6 separate regions of the Homo sapiens genome follow, and regions 1, 2, 3, 4 and 5 are each linked to region 6. Evidence: promoter capture Hi-C in human tissues and cell types (Jung and others, 2019). All regions are on one chromosome and are shown on one strand. Each heading gives the region's core, a stretch centred on a gene start or on the middle of the fragment in contact. The rest is flanking DNA. Distances are from core to core; before and after follow the strand shown.

Region 1 (2,859 bases), core at 315-2,814, 80 kb after region 6:
GGTTCTGAAAATCAGTGGCTATTTCCTTTTTGTGTCCCTAGGGTTCTGAAAGATAGTAAATACTTCATGTTTAATAGATGAACTGGCATTCAGGGAATGAGGAAATTAATGTAGGCTGTTGGAGCAGAAGTCTTCTATTTCTTAAGTAAATATTTTCAATCATTTATGTGGACATAGTGAAGAAAACTATTCTGAACCTTAGTTGTATCTCGACTCTTTTGGGTACATTGTAGATAGCTTTGATGCTTAACAATTAAGTGACAAATAAGCTGTTTCAGAGAAATTGGGAAGCAATAGGTCTTAATTCCCCAGTCTGTAATTCCCTGGTGTTTGTGCATGGGGGGTGGGGCTGGTATAAGAGAGAGAGAGAAGAGGCTGGGTGCTGTGGCTCATGCCTGTAATCCCAGCACTTTAGGAGCCTGAGGCAGGTGGATCATGAGGTCAGGAGTTCAAGACCAGCCTGGCTAACATGGTGAAATCCCGTCTCTACTAAAAATACAAAAATTAGCTGGGTGTGGTGGTGGGCACCTGTAATCCCAGCTACTCAGGAGGCTGTGGCAGGAGAATCATTTGAACTCTGGAGGTGGAGGCTTCAGTGAGCCAAAATTGTGCCATTGCACTCCAGCCTGGGCAACAAGAGCGAAACTCCATCACCAAAAAAAAAAAGAGAGAGAGAGAGAGAGAGAAGAAACCAAGGAGGAGGAGGAGCAGCAGCAGCCGGAGCAAAACACAGGCAACTAAAGGGACATCTGTGAGAAGCACTCATTTTTAGAGCCTACATCCTTTTCTTTTGCATGACATAATAATGCCTTCAGGAGGCAGAGAACTCATGTATGGGTGTGACATACCTTGTTTTCCAGAGAATCATCATTTTGTGAAAATGTATCATCTGAGTGTAATTCAGGGTGGGAAATGTGATACCAGACAGATCATATACAGATGTAGATTCCAGAAAATGCTCTTTCATGTCTGTATTAAACTTAGAAATTTGGATTGCTTTTTTAAAACACTAAATACCTACTTAATATCACATAAACAAAGTGGCGTATATTTTTCTCACCAAATAAGAGGGATGAAGTATTTATGAAGCAGCTCAGTGATATACTAGCCAGCATCTTTGTCATTGTATTGGCCTTGATCCTCAAGTCACAAGTTATCTACTATAGTGCCATGCATCACTTTTATAGTTGAGGTAGGGTTAATGGAGATATAGGATTTTAGCTATATGTATCGTATGTATCAGGAAAGCTAATGCAGTGTCAGGAAGTTTCTGTTCATACCTCTACCTCAGAACTAGATTATATGGCCACTCTTAGCTGCAAGAGAGGCTAGTAACATGAATGGTTAACATTTCCAGCTTCTTTAGGAAAGGTAGGCAAACAAGAAAAGGAATGAGAATGAATTCTGGATTGGCAACCAACAATATTAGTCAGGGATTTGAGATTTTGCACGGTAGATTATTTGCATCTTTCTACTTGTAGCTTGTCTATGACTTTATTTTTAAAAAGCATCAATTACAAAAACGTATAGGTAGGTCTTGTTTTTGTAGCTAGTCTCACAATCCTTGCCTTTTAATTGCACTGTTTTACTTGTATCTAATGTAATTATTTATATAGTTGAGTTTCAATCTACTATCTTGTTATTTATTTTCTAGCTGGTCCCTCCGTTTTTTGTTTCTTTGTTGATCCTTTTCAGGCTAATCAAGTTTTTGCTGCTATTGTTGTTTTGTTCTTTGCTTGGATTCCATTTCTTCTATAGCAAGCTTGTCCAACCTGTGGCCCACAGGCTGCATGAAGCCCAGGATGGCTTTGAATGTGGCCCAACACAAATTCCTAAACTGTCTTAAAACATTGAGAGTTTTTTGTAATTTTTTTTTCAGCTCATCAGCTATTGTTAGTGTTAGTGTATTTTATGTGTGGCTCAAGACAATTCTTCTTCTTCCATTGTGGCCCAGGAAAGCCAAAAGATTGGACACCCTTCTTCTATAGGCTTTTAAAGTAATTTAAAACTTAAGTTGTTTAAGTTTAAACAACTCTTTTTGTGGTTGCTCTAGGGATTATGTCTCTTTAATTTATCAGTATCTACCATTACTATGAGTTAACATTATTTTCATGTGCAATGTAAGGTTTTTTCAGCAGTATTATCCTACTTATATCCCTTCCATCCTTTGTCTATTGGTGACATAAGTTTTACTCTTACATATGTTCTAAGCCCCACTCTACATTGTTTCACCTTTTTTTTCAGTCAAAGAACGTAAAAAAGAAAAAAAGAGTTTTTTGTATTTATCTATATATTTACCATTTCCAGGACTTGTTTTCCTCACCTAGATATTCAGGTTTCCCCTTGGCTCTATTTCCATTTAGTAGAAAGAAATTTCTTTACAATTTCTTATAGAGTGAATCTGCTGGTGATAAATTCTCTTAACTTGTATTTATCTGAAAACATCTCTTTTGCCTTGCCCTTAATTTTTAAATTTTATCTATATCTTTGAGTTGCTATGATTTTTCTCTTAAAATAATCTTAACTTAGAACAGTATGAGATTTACAGAAAAGTTGCGAAGGACATGCTGAGGACTTGAGATACTGGCATACAATTCCTATTTAGTTATACTAGAATCAAAAACCTAACTTGTATTAATTAATTTGCAAAAAATCATTCTCCTCTTAGGGGTACCAATTCAGTATATTTGATCCCTGTTGGAGAATTTCTTATGTGCATACATGGGTTGATCTGAATGTGAAATGCTGAATTTCTATTTGAGTGCATTTATCAAGTATCTAACCTAAAGATTTTCAGGCTCCTACAAAAGAAATGTGGAACTACATCCATTCTTTAAAGGCTACATTGGGTGGGGGATG
Region 2 (3,337 bases), core at 720-3,219, 70 kb before region 6:
AGTGTTTCCTGCAATTCTTGATTCTGGTCTAAATGTTGTGGTGGCTTCAAGGACCATAAGTCTTGTAAAAAAAAAAAAAAAAAGAAAAACAAAAGCAAAACACACACACACAAATCCACACTCTGCTTTCTGCAGTGTGATACTTTGTAGGAAAAGGGCTACCTTAGAGATGCTCTCAGTAATATCCACCTAGGAGAAAGAAACCAAGTTTGTGGAGCCCCTACCTGTGTTAGGCTCTGTGCCGGGCACTTGACATGCTTCATCATATTGATTTCTCATGACAACCCTGCAATAGTGATATTATTATTCCCATTTTACAGCTTAAGAAACACAGGTACAGAGAGGTTACTTAACACCAAAGACATTCAGGAGGTGAGTTGTAAAGCCAGAAGGCAATCCAAGCTTGTTTTGTTCAATAACATTATATCAAGGAATCCTTGTCTTGGAGGAATTAACTCTGACAGCAAATGATGGTGGGTCCAGTGATTCAGGGAAAAGTGTGGCGGGGCCTGAGTGAGCATCCTTTGAAGGGTTGCTCACTCACTCTTGTTGGTAATTCAGCAGCTCGGGCAATGGGGAAGAGGCTGCTGTTTCACAGGCCTTTAGTCCATACTCTGCAGCCAGTATTGCCGGCCTTCCCCTCTCTCCACACACCGACCAGGCTGCCCTTCCATGGCCAATTCCCCCTTTCAGGTTGCCCCTGATGTTCTATGATGGCTTGAGACTGGCTTTAGTCTTTGGATCTCTGCCTTCTTGTTTGTTTTGATCCCCCTTGGAAACTGTGAGTTGCAAGCTGCAGAAGTAGACTTTAAGATTGCTCAACACTGAATAAATAAAACCGTTTCTGATAGCCTGCAGTAAGCATGTCTTTTTTTTTTTTTTGAGACGGAGTCTAGCTCTGTCGCCCAGGCTGGTGTGCAGTGGCGCGTTCTCAGCTCACTGCAAGTTTTGCCTCCCGGGTTCACACCATTCTCCTGCCTCAGCCTCCTGAGTAGCTGGGACTACAGGCACTGGCCACCACGCCAGTCTAATATAAACTGAGTTCATTCATACTCCACTGGGGGCTCAGGAAGGAAACTCAGAGTGCTATTGGTGTTAGACAAATAGGAGCTGGAAGTTGATGCTAAGTGAGGTCAGAGCACATGTCAGGGATGCCATGCTCTGTGGTACCCAGTGAAGCACCAAGAAGAGAAGAGAGTTAACGGATGGGTTTGATGGTGAGTATGATATAGTATCTCACATCTTCTTATTCAGCACCTACATCTGGGGAAGGTCTCCAGAAAACTTGAGGGCCTATCGAAGGGAATTATGCTGAGCCTTGCATAGAGTCAAGTATATGGAAAGGGTCTAGGAGGCAGAAGAACCTTCCTGGAAGGAAGGATGTGACAGAAGGCATGCCACGGACCAGTCCAGGTGTCTGTTCCCTAGCCCTGCCTGAAAAGAGAAAAGCTGGATGTAAAAAACAAAGTAACCATTTTTCTGTCATTCGGGGCATAGACTTTGAGGCTCCAGTGACAAAAAGGAAAGCTGAGAGTTGCTGGTGGGAGGCATGCTCCCCATTGCTGGGCAAAAACCACAGGAGACAGCCCAGCTCACATGCTGAGATCAATGCCACGGGGATCAGTGACACAACCTGGCTGTACTGTCTTGAGGGCGCTGCAGTCCTGGCTGAACTGGGAGATAGCGTGCTGGGAGCAGCAGCAGCATTCTGTGTGGAAATCCACGGCAGCCTTAGCAGTGGTGGGGTAGCACTTCATTCAAGCTGCCACATTGCCACAGACATCGACAAGAAGCTCAGGGAAGAAGGACTTAGGAGGGCTATCTGTGAACACTCTGAGGACCTGAGCACTTCCAGTGGGGCTTTGGGAAGGTTACAAGGAGCAAGTAGAGAGACCAGGAGTCAGCAGCATTGAGTATCCAATTCACACTGACGCAACCTCATTTTTAACCACAGGTTGGGAGGCCTGGAGACAGAAGCAAAGAATCGAGAAAGCCCCTGATAACTATTCCAAGGCTTGATCAGATATGTGAGCCAGGAAAACTAAACGCAGCTCAAGTGCTTGAGATCTCTTGAATTTCCTTAGCCTCCTACCCCTCGAGAGACCTTTCCAAGGTTGCTCTCTGTAAGAAAAATGAGAGCGCCTCCCAACCTGCTCTAGCCAATAATTCATTCGGAAACAAGTTGCTTATCTCTTTGATCTGGGTCACGGAGGGTGCCCCTGTCTGAGCTGCTTGTATGCTGGGTACTCTCGCTAAGCCTCATTGACTGCACCGAGGGATGCTAGGGGAGGGACCATTTCCATATCTGCATTAGCCAGCTTTGGGTCAATTAAAGTAAAACTGAAAACAACTTGGTAGGCTGCTGGATAAGCAATGTTGGGGCTCAGAAGTGGATACCCCAAAATATGGTGCTGTGAACATGCAGAACTGAAGCAGCCTCTAATTCTCTCTGACCTCTCCTCCTCCCCTCCCATCTCTGTCTCTCTCCAAGCATAGGATGAAGTTGTTCTCTGAAGTTCCTTTATCTGCCTGAAGTCCAAACCTGCCAAAAAAGAAAACAATGACCTCTGGTTCTTTCCCTGAGTTTCATTCACTGAACTGATATCGCAGGAAAAAAGACTGAAATCTGTCAACATACCTGGACAGACTTTTGTTACAAACCATTATCTGGTCTGCGGACTGTACAGACTTTGTCCTAGGCCCTTTGTATGTTCTTCAAGGCCATTGAATTCCCCAAAAAATCATTACTACCCCCCAAAATTGTTTATACTTCCACACCTCCCTATCGCCTAAGAAGAAGGGTATCTTAGCACCCATACCCTACTGTGTGGTGGGAAGATCACTCTGATATCCTCCCATGCATGTTAATAAATATGTATGCCTTTTCTCCTATCAATTTGCCTTTTTCATTTGATTTTCAGCAAATATTCGGAAGGCAAACGGGAGATTTTTCCTTTGATCCCTACAGCAACTTTCCATATCTCAGTGTTTCCGGAAAAAGCAGTACTGGGTAGGCGTTGATCGGCAAAAGGTGTGACTGTAGCTGCTAAAACCAGCAGAGCGAGTGTCATCACCTCTGGTTGCTTTTCCTTCAGCCCTAAATACCCTCTCATCAAGCCTTCTTCCACCTACCAAACACCTCCCACCCATGAGTCCAAAGGTCTCTCTCCTCTTCCTGCGTCCCTCAGGTCTAAAGGACATGGTAAGCCGCTAGGATTTCTTCCTCTAAGTTAATGGGTAGGCTGCTTGCCTATGTTATGCCTGTGTGGCAGGGTCAAAGCGGTTCTGGCTTCTGGTTTAGTAGTACTGTCTGAGCACAGCTGTTCAACAGACTTAA
Region 3 (2,954 bases), core at 133-2,632, 92 kb before region 6:
CAAAAAGTAGCTCTCTCTTCTCTCCAAGGCTGAGGGAAGGCGCCACCAAGACAAACCACCACACAGTGGGAAGTGCCTAAATCTTTTCTCCCTCCACTAATTCTGGGATGAGAAGATCATCTTGTCAGAAAGGTGACAAACGAATGGACTGGCAAACCTAATTACCAGTAGGGCATGTCAATAAAGGTAGAAGAGAGAAGATACGGCTGCAATGGGGGGAGACTTCCGTGGGGGAGCCAGAACTCCTCACATTTTCATGTGGCAAAGATGTGTAAGTTTTCTAAGACATAAAGGTAGATAGCTCCAGATATCTTGAAGCTATTTCAGCCTATAAGGCTGCAGGCATGGTATGGGGGACAAAGAAGCAAGATGGGATAGGCCTGTAGTGAGTTTTGGGAGGAGGGGGATATATTGAAATTGAGAAACAAATCCAAAGGAATGTGCAGGCAGTGGGTCCCCCAGGGCTCTCAGAAACACCAGCCAACACCCTCTCTGAAATAACCAGTATTCTTGGAATCTGACAGCTATGTGTCTTGGAGACTTGATACACAGTTAGAATCGATGGCTACTGGCTGTCGGAAAACAGACAAAAGCCAACAGAAAGAAGTGGTGACTTTGCTACGGGTCAGCCAATAAGGGCCCCGTGGCACTCCTCTCCTTCCTTTGGGCTATGACATCGATGCGGTATGTGCCACCTCTATATTCAAGCCACGAGCCACAAGTGTAACCCCTATAGGCAGGGATTGGTGAGGAGGACCTTAAAATGATTATAAAATTAACCATCAAAATAAACAACACTGAATCTAAGAGAAAGGATGTAAGACGGATCTAATAACTAAAAGTGATCAAAGAACAATGGAATTCAACTGTGCTATCGGGAGGAGAATCCACTATCACGTGGGGGAAACGTTGAATGAAACACAAGTCGCAGCAGAAATTGAAAAAAAAATGATTTCGTGTTTTCGTTTTAGTGAGCTGACACTCTTTTTTAAATTAATTTTTTAAACTACAGGCCAGGCGTGGTGGCTCACACCTGTAATCCCAGCACTTTGGGAGGCCGAGGCGGGTGGATCACCTGATGTCAGGAGTTCAAGACCAGCCTGGCCAACATGGGGAAACCCCGTCTTTACTAAAATACAAAAAATTAGCTGGACATGGTGGCGGGCGCCTGTAAACCCAGCTACTCGGCAGGCTGAGGCAGGAGAATGGCGTGAACCCGGGAGGCAGAGCTTGCAGTGAGCCGAGATCGTGCCACTGCACTCCAGCCTGGGCGACAAGAGTGAAACTCCGTCTCAAAAACAAGTAAATAAATAAAACTACGAAAACATTTTCAAAGAAATGAGAAAACATTACCTTTAATTTGATGCCCCCCTATAGATATATGCAATTAATTGCTTTCCCGTTTTTAGACAAGTTAATTTAAACTAGGTTATGTCCATTACGTTCAGCCACTGGGCTCGTACTCACATCTCTCCACTTTGAATATCTGTCCTCCCAGTTCAATTTGTATCTCAAAATTTATAATTTTATATTGCTAGAGAAACAAAACCATCTTTTTTTCTCTTCCTTCAGGGACTCTGGGGAAGAGAATGGGGAAGAGAATGTCCCTTGGCTAAGAATTTAATCTAGCTCTTTCCAGAACTAATTACAAAACCTCTGTGAGGCGTTTGGGTAGTTATAAGAGCAGTTCTTAAGCGGCATAAAGCTGGAAAATGGGCCCATTTCTTATTTTCAACAGGTCCTAGGAGTCACAGTTTGAAAGGGTGGGAGTACTTACATTGTTCAAAGGTAAATTACATAAGGTGTTAACTACATGGAGAGAAGAGGCTTTGAAAACTACGGGGATATTTAAAAAGTATTTCTCTTCCATTTTATGGGCTTAGACTAATAGATCTGATAGTTAATATTTATCTTTGAGAGCTGTGTGTACGTGCAGTGGAGAAAAGTGTGGTTGATGAGTGCAAGGTTGCAGGGAGAGCCCACAGCTTCCAATGAGCAATCAATAGGCTATGAAGATTGTCTCCAACTCACTGTGGTATGGAGACCCCAAGGGGACCGGATGAGGAGTGTCCAGGCCAGCTCGGGACGATTCTGTGGGACTGGGGATGCCAAGTCCACCATCAACTCTCTCTGGGATACTGTCTTAAATGGACTGAGAGCTAGATAAAAGTTCTGCTAGTGGGGAAGGAGGCAGCTACTGGTTTGAGATCAGTCTCTGCAGGGAGGAAGAACATTTTGCTGAAATGAATAATGAATCACAGGAAGGAGAATAGGGAGAGATGCTTCTCAATAAGGAGCAGACCCCCAAAATAAGGGTGTATGGCTAGGAATTAGGGGAGCCCATAAGAGCATCCCTATACGGATTTCATATTGTGTTTTTCCTTTGTATTATGGCAACGGAAATTTTAGATATCTGTGCTCTTGTATTATGGTTTCCTTTTGTTATTACAATCCTGCAGAACAGTCGACATGCATACAGACATATACATATATATCAAAGGAGATCAGAGGCGTTCTGCATGTTATGGCGGTAGACACATGCACATATGCCTACCAGCAGTGTTGTGAAGAACAGCATAATGAAGGAAGTAGGGCCTGGCCAATTTGCCCTTCTGAGGGTGCCACGCAGAGGAAGAGGCATCCTAGAGAAAACCTCCTTCCCAAATAAACGGTCAGAGGCCCAAGATAGAGCTGGGAGCCGTGGGAAGCAAAGCAGAATGGTGAGTCTTGGAAGGCTTGTAAATGAAGCCCTTTCTCCTTCCCCGTATACATGAAAAGCAGCTGACCTTTCAAAACGAGAAGAGGCTGACGTGTAGGTTACTCTACTCACTCCTCGGGACCATCTTCTCAAATGCCACATCCTTTACTAAGCTTTCCCTGAGCTCATCCAAGCTGGAAAAAATTCTTCACACCTCTGAAAGCTGAGAGCCCTTGATTTGGGCCTCCCTTATGGC
Region 4 (3,154 bases), core at 310-2,809, 130 kb after region 6:
GTAGCTGAGATCACAGGCACTCACCACCACATCCAGCTAATTTTTGTATTTTTAGTAGAGATGGGGTTTTACCATGTTGGCCAGGCTGGTCTCAAGCTCCTGACCTCAAGTGACCCACCTGCCTTGGCCTCCCAAAATGCTAGGATTACAGGCGTGAGCCACTGCACTCAGCCAAATTATTTTTAAAGTTATATTTTTATGTTATAAAGTTTTCTTAGACAGTTGACAGGAATTTAATAATATTGAGAGAAGTTCATTTAGTCCGTTAATCCATTGGCAACTATCAACAGATATATCCTATGTGCCCAGCACTGCTCTAGGTACAGGATATCCCTCTTGTGGAAGCTTTAAGAAGGGAGATGGACAATAAACAATAACCAAGTAGGTGAACAAGATAGTTTTATAGAATGATACATGCCCTTGATGAAAATACAGTAATGTGATAGAGAATGTTGGGGAGCCTACAATAGATTGGGTGATTAGAGAAAGTCTCTCTCAGGAGGCAAGCCTTACAATAAAAATCTAAATGATTAACAAGAATCTAGGTTTACAAACATCTGAGGACAGAGAGTTCCAGGAAGAGGGAACTGCAAGTGCAAAGGATGTAAGACAGGCATAAGCTGGGAATGCTAGAAAAACAGAAGGAATTTGCTATGGCTATAGGGAGCCAAGGGAAAAGTGGTGTGAGGGAGGGAAGCTGGCAGGGCCATGGTGTGTAATGTCCTGTAGATTATTTTACATTTGTATATATGTATATTTTTGAGACAAGATCTCATTCTGTTACCCAGGGTGGAGTGCAGTGACAGGATCTTGGCTCACTGCAACCTCCACCTCCCGGGCTCAGGTGATCCTCCCACCTAAGCCTCCTGAGTAGCTGGGACTACAGGCACATGCCACCATGCCCAGCTAATTTTTTGTAGAGGTGGGGTTTCGCCTTGTTGCCCAGGCAGGTCTCAAGTGCCTGAGCTCAAGTGATCTGCTTGCCTTGGCCTCAGAAAGTGCTGGGATTACAGGCATGAGCCACTGTGCCCAGCTACATTTGTATGTTAAGTGTAATATGACGCCTTGGAAGATTTTAAGGAGAGGCATAGAATGAGCAGATGTCTATTTTTAGGAGAAGACTTTTCTGTGTGTTATGCAGAGAATCTAGAGAGTCGATGGAAGTGGGTAAGGAGTGGAAGCAGGAAGCTCAGTCCTCCTGCTGTAGCAGGTCAGATGAGGGATGGTGGCAGCACTCCTGGGAGGTGGCAGGACAGATGGAGAAGAGTGGGTGGATGTGAAATGAAGCTTGCAAATCGTCCTGATGGGCCTTGCTGATGATAGGGAGGAGAAGATGAAGAGAGGAATAAAGGCTCTAGAACAGAGGAAGCAATGACAAGAAAGACTGGAGGAGAAATGGTGTATGTGGAGGGTTGCAGGAATAAAGTTTTCTTTTGGCCATTGTCATGGGTTAAATTTTGCCCCCATAAAAGATATGTTGAAGTCCGAATTGCTGAACCTTACTTGAGATCAGGATTTTGGCAGATATAATCAAATTAAGATGAGGTCATACTGAATTAGGTTGGACTTTAATCCATATGATAAGGATTTATGGTGATAAGAAGAACGGAAAGGAGAGATGGACAGACAGACCTACAGGATGGGCAAGAGGGAATTGAGGACAAACTGTGAGGCAAAGAAAGTTACTATCAGCAACTCTTTTGACATTTCATAGAGAAGGACAGTGGAGAAATGGGACGGTGACTTGGCTGGGGGAATGGGGTGAAGGGAGAATAGAACATGTAAAGTCATAAGAGTTGAGAAGTTTCAGTATGAATGAGCCCATTGAGGGAGAGAAATTGATGACTGAGGAGGAGAGGGAGAATTTCAGGAGCTAAGTCCTTGAGATGATGAAAAGGGATAGGCCATGCTTGGAACAAGGACATTGGACTCACTTTCATAGCAGGGAGGACAGAGAAAGGGGATGGCTGTAAATTCCCTGTGAACAACAGAGTTCCTTTCCGATGAGGCAAGGTCATGAGTTGAAGGGCACAGAGAACAGGGAACACTGGAGGTTTCAGGAACAGCAGAAACTATAAAAAACATTTGGGAATTGGAAGAACCAACATTCCAGGGAAGGAAAGCACAATTCCCAAGAGGTGAGGGGCCCTTTGAAACTTGTGGTTCTCAATTCTAAGAGACCCTGGGCAGTCACAGTGATATTGGTGAACACACCCCAGGTGCTGTTCTAAGCCCTTTACATCTAAAGTCCCACATCTACTAGATGTAGCTGGTGGGCTCTCACCACTGGCGGTTTTGCTGAGTGAATGCATGGAATGAGATGGAGGCTGAGGATGCTGAGGATGGACCATGCCAACACAACTGGATAAGGAGGCAAGGAAGGCTCAGGGTATAACAGTCTGCAAATGAAATCACCTTCCTACTGGGCATTACAGTCTGAAAAATAGTTTAGCCCCTCAAATTTTCTCCCTCTCCAATTGTTTATTTTGCTCTGGGTTGGAAAGTTCTCTCTTAGGTGCTTGGGAAGAGGTGTGGTCCCTTGAGCAGATGCTGGCCGGACAGCTCCCCCACCTAGAGTGCTTATAGTTCCATCATCTTCCCAAAGTTGAATTAATCTAACCCCAAGTCACTCACATGACCCACTTTTCCAAAGAATCAAGAGACAATAGATGACAAAATCCCACAAGACGCTCTATACACGTGACTACATTTGGACAATACAGTACAAGACTCGGTGTGTCCAAGCAAATTCTGTCTCAGAGCCAAGGACATGGTCCAACCCACACAAACATGAAATTTCCCAGCATGTCAGGAGCAAGACAGGGATCACAGAATCACAGAGGAACCAGTGCAGGCAGGTGTGAGATGGAGCGCTTCCTTTTGGAGGTGAGATGAGCTGACGTGTTTTCTCCTACTAATCTTAATTAGCGGGTCTGTTTTTTCCAAAGCACATTCAGGAGAATCGCAGTGAGTGCCCTAAACCATGACATTACCAGCATGAAAACTGATACTCTCCCAGAAGTATGGGGTAGAGAAGAGTCCTTCCTGGAGCTTTGAATAATTTTGGACTTAAGACTCTTCCTTGACTTTCTCCCTGGAATATTTTGAAATATTCAGTATACTTGAGTTTTGCTCTTCTAGTAGTAATGGTAGT
Region 5 (3,157 bases), core at 183-2,682, 110 kb after region 6:
GCTTTGCTCTATTTATGGGACCAAAAAGAGTTGGTAAGTTATTTGTTTATGTAAACAGGGATCAGTGTGTTCTATCTTCTTAAGAACATACATGATTCTCAAAAACTGAACAATAGCCATGCACCTGCAGATCGTGAGTGATGTCAACTATAAATGATTTTTTGCCTCTTGTTAAAGCAGGCTTTAAAGACTTTCTTGGCAATTCTTGATGAGCTAACGGCACTTGTCACCCTCTATATTTAAAAGAATTAAATAATTATTTAATGCAATAATTTAGTAATTATTTGATAGTTATAAAATAATTTAATAATTATAGAACCATCTTTAAAAATATTCTATGATCCCAATAGGCCTCCTCAATCTTGGTCTGAGTTAGTGAGTGAAGTTTTATTCCTTTTATTCTATTGGTCCTCAGCAGTGTCTACCCTGAGTTTTTTCTTTCTTTCTTCTTCCCTTTTTTCCTCTTTCTTTTCCTTCATAAGAAACAAGTTCATTTGGGGCCTATATTTAACAGTCTACCCAATCTGTATATTTTAACACTCGAGATCCTAAGTAGTAAAATGGAATAATATTTCATGTTTGTATCAAGATTGCTCACTTTCAAACCACATAATTATCTTGTGAAGCATTTATATTCTTCCCACTGATAGGAAGAGTTGAGCAAACATAGAAACAAGTATCAGAACAGAAATCATGAAACTTGGCCATTCTTTTGCTTCTCCTACTCATCTGGCTGTGCTTTCACTAGTGGGGGAAACCATAGGCGTAGCTCCTACAGCTTTGGGGGATTCATAAAAAAGGAGCTCTGCACCAGGGTACAAAATAAGCTAAAGGTTGTGTTTGGTCTGGGATCCTTTGGTTTAATTTTATGCCACTGGATAAACATGTTAGTGAGATTCATTTATTTGTGCCTTGCAAAGAAGTATAAAATCTTGCCTGGCCATAAAAATTTGGCTGGAGTTCCCACCACATAAATTTACCATTCCATTTCGCCATTGTTTCTGCCCATCATGGATCCACAACAAAAGAGGGCCTGACCTCATCCCCCAAAGGTATTATTTTGTTCATAGTGCAGCTTTCACATTGGGCCAGAAAGAAACTATTTATCAGCTCGTGACTCAGACCTCTTAGGTTAACACCCCTCTCAGATTCTATGATTTCAGAGTTGGTTTGGGAGTAAATACATCAGCCTAGGATTATTTGACATCGTTTTCTGTGCTTGGTTAGCAGAAGTCCATTGAGTCAGGCTTTTGTCACCCACCTACATAGTAACAATGGAAGTTATTTATGGTATGGATTTTATGGGTCAACACTTTTGAAGATAACTGTAAATGCCAGGACTGTGCCTCCTTGGGCTGTGAGTTCTGTAGCTGAGCAGCCACAGTTGGGGATGGGGGACGCGTGAATGTGTAAGTCAGTGCTAAAGACAACCACTTTGTTTACAAAGCTCCAGCACTTTCCAAATGTCTGCAGTATTCTACCTGTCAGTCAGCTCCACTATCTGCTAAGTCAGATAACTGATGGGAAGGAAGGAATGAAATGAGGCCTCTTGAAAAAGAGAGATTATTCAGATTAAGAGTTTCAAAGCAATAGGTTGGAAACAGGCAAAAATGAATCACGTGGAGAGTCAAAATGAATAGAAGTGGAAGATTGTGGGCTCAGGGTTAAGCCCCTGCACTGGGCCTTCTGTTAATAAACGTTAAGGGGAAATGCAAGACCCAAGAGGGACAAAAGGAGAGTGCAGAAACATCCTCTGCTTATCTGGATAAATGGTTCCTTTCACATTTTCTTTGTGGGTGGCTTTCTGAAAGCCATAGAAAACCATGTTCTCCCCACCTTTTTTTTTGTTGAACCCGCCTCCCAGGTTCAAGTGATTCCCCTGCCTCAGCCTCCGAAGTAGCTGGGATTACAGGCAGGCACCGCCATGCCCGGCTAATTTATTTATTTATTTATTTATTTATTTTTTTTTTTTTTTGAGACGGAGTCTCGCTCTGTCGCCCAGGCTGGAGTGCAGTGGCGCGATCTCGGCTCACTGCAAGCTCCGCCTCCCGGGTTCACGCCATTCTCCTGCCTCAGCCTCCCGAGTAGCTGGGACTACAGGCGCCTGCCACCACGCCCGGCTAATTTTTTTGTCATTTTAGTAGAGACGGGGTTTCACCGTGTTGGCAAGGATGGTCTCGATCTCCTGACCTTGTGATCCACCCACCTCAGACTCCCAAAGTGCTGAGATTACAGGCATGGGCCACCGTGCCCAGCCGAGGACCCATTTAAGGGTCAGCTTATGAAGAAACCAAACCAAGAGCCTCATCAGATATCTAATCAAACATCATATCTAGTTGATTCCTTCTCTTTACATCTCAGTTCTATCCCCTCTTCCCTCAGTCCACTGTCAATCATCTCTCACTGGACCATTAACTATTCTGCTTACTATTTTTCTGCCTTTTATCTTACCTTTATCTTTATTTAATTATTGTAGAGTGATCAGAGCATTTTTTCTAGTATATAAATCTGGTCATGCCATTCCCTCACTCAAAATTCCTTACTAGTTTCATACTGGCCAAAAGATTAAAAACTCCATAGCATGGCATAAAATCATTCTACTATGAAGACACATGCACACATATGTTTATTGCAGCACTGTTTACAATAGCGAAGACTTGGAACCAACCCAAATGCCCATCAGTTATAGACTGGATAAAGAAAATGTGGCACATATACACCATGGAATACTATGCAGCCATAAAAAAGAATGAGTTCATGTCCTTGCAGAGACATGGATGAAGCTGGAAACCATCATTCTCAGCAAGCTAACACAGGAACAGAAAACCAAATGCCACATGTTCTCACTCATAAGTGGGAGTTGAACAATGAGAATGCATGGACACAGGGAGGGGAACATCACACACTGGGGCCTGTTGGGGGGTGGGGAACAAGGGGAAGGAGAGCATTAAGAGAAATGTGTAAGGCATGCGGGGCTTAATACCTAGATGATGGTTTCATAGGTGCAGCAAACCATCATGGCACATGTATACCTGTGTAACAAACCTGCACATTCTGCACATGTATCCCAGAACTTAAAGTAAAATAAATAAACAAAAAATACTATCCCGTCTTTATCTCCTGTCATGCCTACCTGAATATCCAATTACCTAGTCAT
Region 6 (2,937 bases), core at 304-2,803:
TCCTCCAAGGACACACGCCAAGGATGGTACTATGATTCTCTTTTGGGATGGCCTCGTAGCTGTGAAAGTTAGACTCAGGCCTCCTTTCCACAGACCCAGACACGCAACTACCCCGGAAAGCACCCCCGCCCTGCACCCCCATCCTCCTCACCTCCCATAGGAGCTGCAGCACAGAGATTTCAACACAGGGGTTACAAAGCTGAGTCTCAGAGGTTCAGATAGCTTTCTAATGGCCTCGAGGCTCCGCGGGGAAAAAAAAAAGTATAGCAAAGAGTTGCCATCCAGTCCTGGGGCTGTCTAGCGCCTTTATGCGTAGTGGGTACGGGGTTGGGGAAAGAGTGACCAAGGGGAAGAGAGTGTAGGCTCAGCTCACGGGTCGCCCAACAGCCTCAGACAAGCCACTTGACCCCTGGACTCAGTTTGGGAACCTGTAGCAATGGGTTTGACCTCTTCTCCTGGCTGCGAGTATCACCACTAGGGAGAGGCAAAGGCTTGCAGAAACCCCAACTCCCGCTCAGGCAGCGCGCTGCCCCGGGCTCCGGTAGGGTGGGGACTGGTCGCGAAGGCTAGAGAAGGCAATGGCAGGGGAGGTCAGTCCCTGCCGCGGGCCGGCTGCAGAGCGGACGTTCCGCCCTGCTCCCGGCCCCCTCTTCGCCCGCCGGGTTCGCCGTGTCGAATAACTGCTGTCCGGAGCTTTCGTGACGCGGAGCTTCAACTGCTGCGATCCGGAAGAAGCGAAAAGGAGTCCCCCCCGCCCCGCACCCTGAGCGCCCGGGCGTGCAAACGTGGGTGGCGGAGAGCGGCTGCCCTCCCCTCCCCTGTCCCCCCTCCCCTCGCGGCGCTCCCGTGTGTGCGGGTGTGTGAGTGCGTGTGTCTCCCTCGCTCACTCTCGCACACGTTCCGGCACTAGTGCAGGCGGCGAGCCGGCGGCTCTCCGCTCGCTCGCTCCGGCAGCTGCGTTCCCGCCTCGCCCCGCCGCCGCCGCCGCCGCCGCCGCCGCCGCCTCTGCAGTCGCAGCCGGGCATGGTGAGTGAGTGAGGTCCAGCCGCCGCGCGCTCTCCCGGCTCGCCGCCGGACCCCAGCCTCAACCGGCTCCGTCCCAGGGAGCCAGCCTGCGGCGGGAGCGCGCTGCGGGGCCGGGCGGCTGGGGGACCCGGGCGGCCGAGCTGCGCCTGGAGGGGCGGCCCGTGCGCTCTCGGTTCCAGGCGCGCAGGGCCGCGGGACCCCGTCTTGGGAGCGGGCTCTACGCCCCTCCCGGCTCCGAGTCTCTCTCCTCGAGGGCTGCGCGCACCCTCCCCGCCCGCCTGCCCGCGGTTCTCCTCCTGCTCCCGGAGCGCCAGTCGCCCCACCCCGTGACCGGCTCCCCGTCTTGTCCCGCAGGACCCGCCCGGACGGGACCACGCCGCCGCCGCCGCCGCCGCCGCCCGGAGCCGCGCTTCGGGTCCTGCCTGAGCCGAGCCGCGCGCGGGGCCGCAGTCACCGCCGGCGGGGGATGGGGCTGCCCAGGAGGCGCGCCGAGCCCGCAGGGGGAGCGCGGAGCCGGCGCGCAGCCTGAGAGCCCGAGCAGCCCGCGCCGGGCCGGTCCGTGCGCACCGCGCGCCGCCGCCGCCACTGCCGCCCGCGCCTCGATGGCGCCATCGCCCCGGAGCCGCTGACCGCTCAGCGCCTCCAGCCCGGCCCGCGCGGCGGGTCCTCCGAGCCCGGCCCGCCGGGGGAGCGGCCTGCCGCGGAAGCCTCCCCGCGCCCTCCCGCCCGGCCCCGCCATGGCGCTGCGGCGCCTCCTGCTGCTGCTGCTGCTCTCGCTGGAGTCCCTGGACCTGCTGCCCAGCGTCCACGGAGCCCGCGGCCGCGCCGCCAACCGGACCCTGAGTGCAGGCGGCGCTGCCGTCGGGGGCCGGAGGGCCGGGGGCGCCCTGGCACGGGGCGGCCGCGAGCTGAACGGCACCGCCCGGGCGCCCGGAATCCCGGAGGCGGGAAGCCGGCGGGGGCAGCCCGCGGCGGCTGTGGCGGCGGCGGCCAGCGCGGCCGTCACCTACGAGACGTGCTGGGGCTACTACGACGTGAGCGGCCAGTACGACAAGGAGTTCGAGTGTAACAACAGCGAGAGCGGCTACCTGTACTGCTGCGGTACCTGCTACTACCGCTTCTGCTGCAAGAAGCGCCACGAGAAGCTGGACCAGCGCCAGTGCACCAACTACCAGAGCCCGGTGTGGGTACAGACGCCCAGCACCAAGGTGGTGTCGCCGGGGCCCGAGAACAAGTACGACCCGGAGAAGGACAAGACCAACTTCACCGTCTACATCACCTGCGGGGTGATCGCCTTCGTCATCGTGGCCGGCGTCTTCGCCAAGGTCTCCTACGACAAGGCCCACCGCCCTCCACGGGAGATGAACATCCACAGGTGAGAGCGCCGCGTGCCGCGCGCCCCGGTCTCCCCGCGGCCTCACCCTCTCAGCTTGCTTCCCCTGTCCTCTTCACTCTCGGCATCATCACACCTCCCCAGGCCCTCTAGTCATTTCCACCATCGCTCCTTTTGCATGCAATAAATCAGGGTCTTCTTGTGCCCCCTCCTCCATTTCTTCAGAACCGGGAATGCATGCTTTGGTGGTAGGGGGATTTACAAGGCAGAGTAAGAATTGGTTGAGTGCATGAAGTTCCAAGTGTAAGAATGTTACAAATTCTGTAATCGTGGATGAGGATCCAGGGTTCTGCTTTCCTGGCATGAGGGCACTTTGGTGTAGGTTCTTAATGGCATTTAGTTTTTTGAGTCAAATCAGAGTGTCATCTTCAATATAGGAAACTGACCAATGTTGGAACCTTACTGAAAGCGGTACCAAGTGGCTTAGGGTCAACTGAGATGTTCTCGTACATTAGGAATTGGGGTTTTATAGAAAGGATGCCTCCTGCCGGAAGTAGGGATAAAGATTTCTCCATTCC

Evidence for each region. The method cuts DNA at HindIII sites, captures the fragments that hold promoters and counts their contacts. A contact is called where the count stands out against the background at its distance.
Region 1: a contact is called between a fragment that was not itself captured here and the fragment with the promoter of SHISA6 in region 6, in 2 of the 25 tissues and cell types used here (mesendoderm cells and neural progenitor cells).
Region 2: a fragment that was not itself captured here is called in contact with the fragment with the promoter of SHISA6 in region 6 in 2 of the 25 tissues and cell types used here (neural progenitor cells and spleen).
Region 3: a fragment that was not itself captured here is called in contact with the fragment with the promoter of SHISA6 in region 6 in 3 of the 25 tissues and cell types used here (liver, mesendoderm cells and thymus).
Region 4: a contact is called between a fragment that was not itself captured here and the fragment with the promoter of SHISA6 in region 6, in 2 of the 25 tissues and cell types used here (bladder and hippocampus).
Region 5: a contact is called between a fragment that was not itself captured here and the fragment with the promoter of SHISA6 in region 6, in 2 of the 25 tissues and cell types used here (spleen and thymus).

The regions. Positions count from the first base shown.
Region 1 is chr17:11,320,005-11,322,863 of GRCh38, forward strand. The region is part of intron 2 of SHISA6 (shisa family member 6); the gene reads left to right. Among named protein-coding and RNA genes, the nearest start is that of SHISA6, 80 kb to the left of the region's middle. The HindIII fragment of the contact is 9,815 bases long and covers 1-2,859 here.
Region 2 is chr17:11,168,884-11,172,220 of GRCh38, forward strand. No RefSeq gene overlaps it. Among named protein-coding and RNA genes, the nearest start is that of SHISA6, 71 kb to the right of the region's middle. The HindIII fragment of the contact is 5,074 bases long and covers 1-3,337 here.
Region 3 is chr17:11,147,371-11,150,324 of GRCh38, forward strand. No RefSeq gene overlaps it. Among named protein-coding and RNA genes, the nearest start is that of SHISA6, 92 kb to the right of the region's middle. RefSeq lists an enhancer at 2,779-2,954. The HindIII fragment of the contact is 6,732 bases long and covers 1-2,954 here.
Region 4 is chr17:11,365,405-11,368,558 of GRCh38, forward strand. The region is part of intron 2 of SHISA6 (shisa family member 6); the gene reads left to right. Among named protein-coding and RNA genes, the nearest start is that of SHISA6, 130 kb to the left of the region's middle. The HindIII fragment of the contact is 3,398 bases long and covers 1-3,154 here.
Region 5 is chr17:11,348,223-11,351,379 of GRCh38, forward strand. All of the region lies in intron 2 of SHISA6 (shisa family member 6), which reads left to right. Among named protein-coding and RNA genes, the nearest start is that of SHISA6, 110 kb to the left of the region's middle. The HindIII fragment of the contact is 8,299 bases long and covers 1-3,157 here.
Region 6 is chr17:11,239,660-11,242,596 of GRCh38, forward strand. It overlaps SHISA6 (shisa family member 6), which reads left to right and starts at 1,554. Exons shown (of 6, transcript NM_207386.4): 1 at 1,554-2,401. The coding sequence starts at 1,764. The HindIII fragment of the contact is 17,378 bases long and covers 1-2,937 here.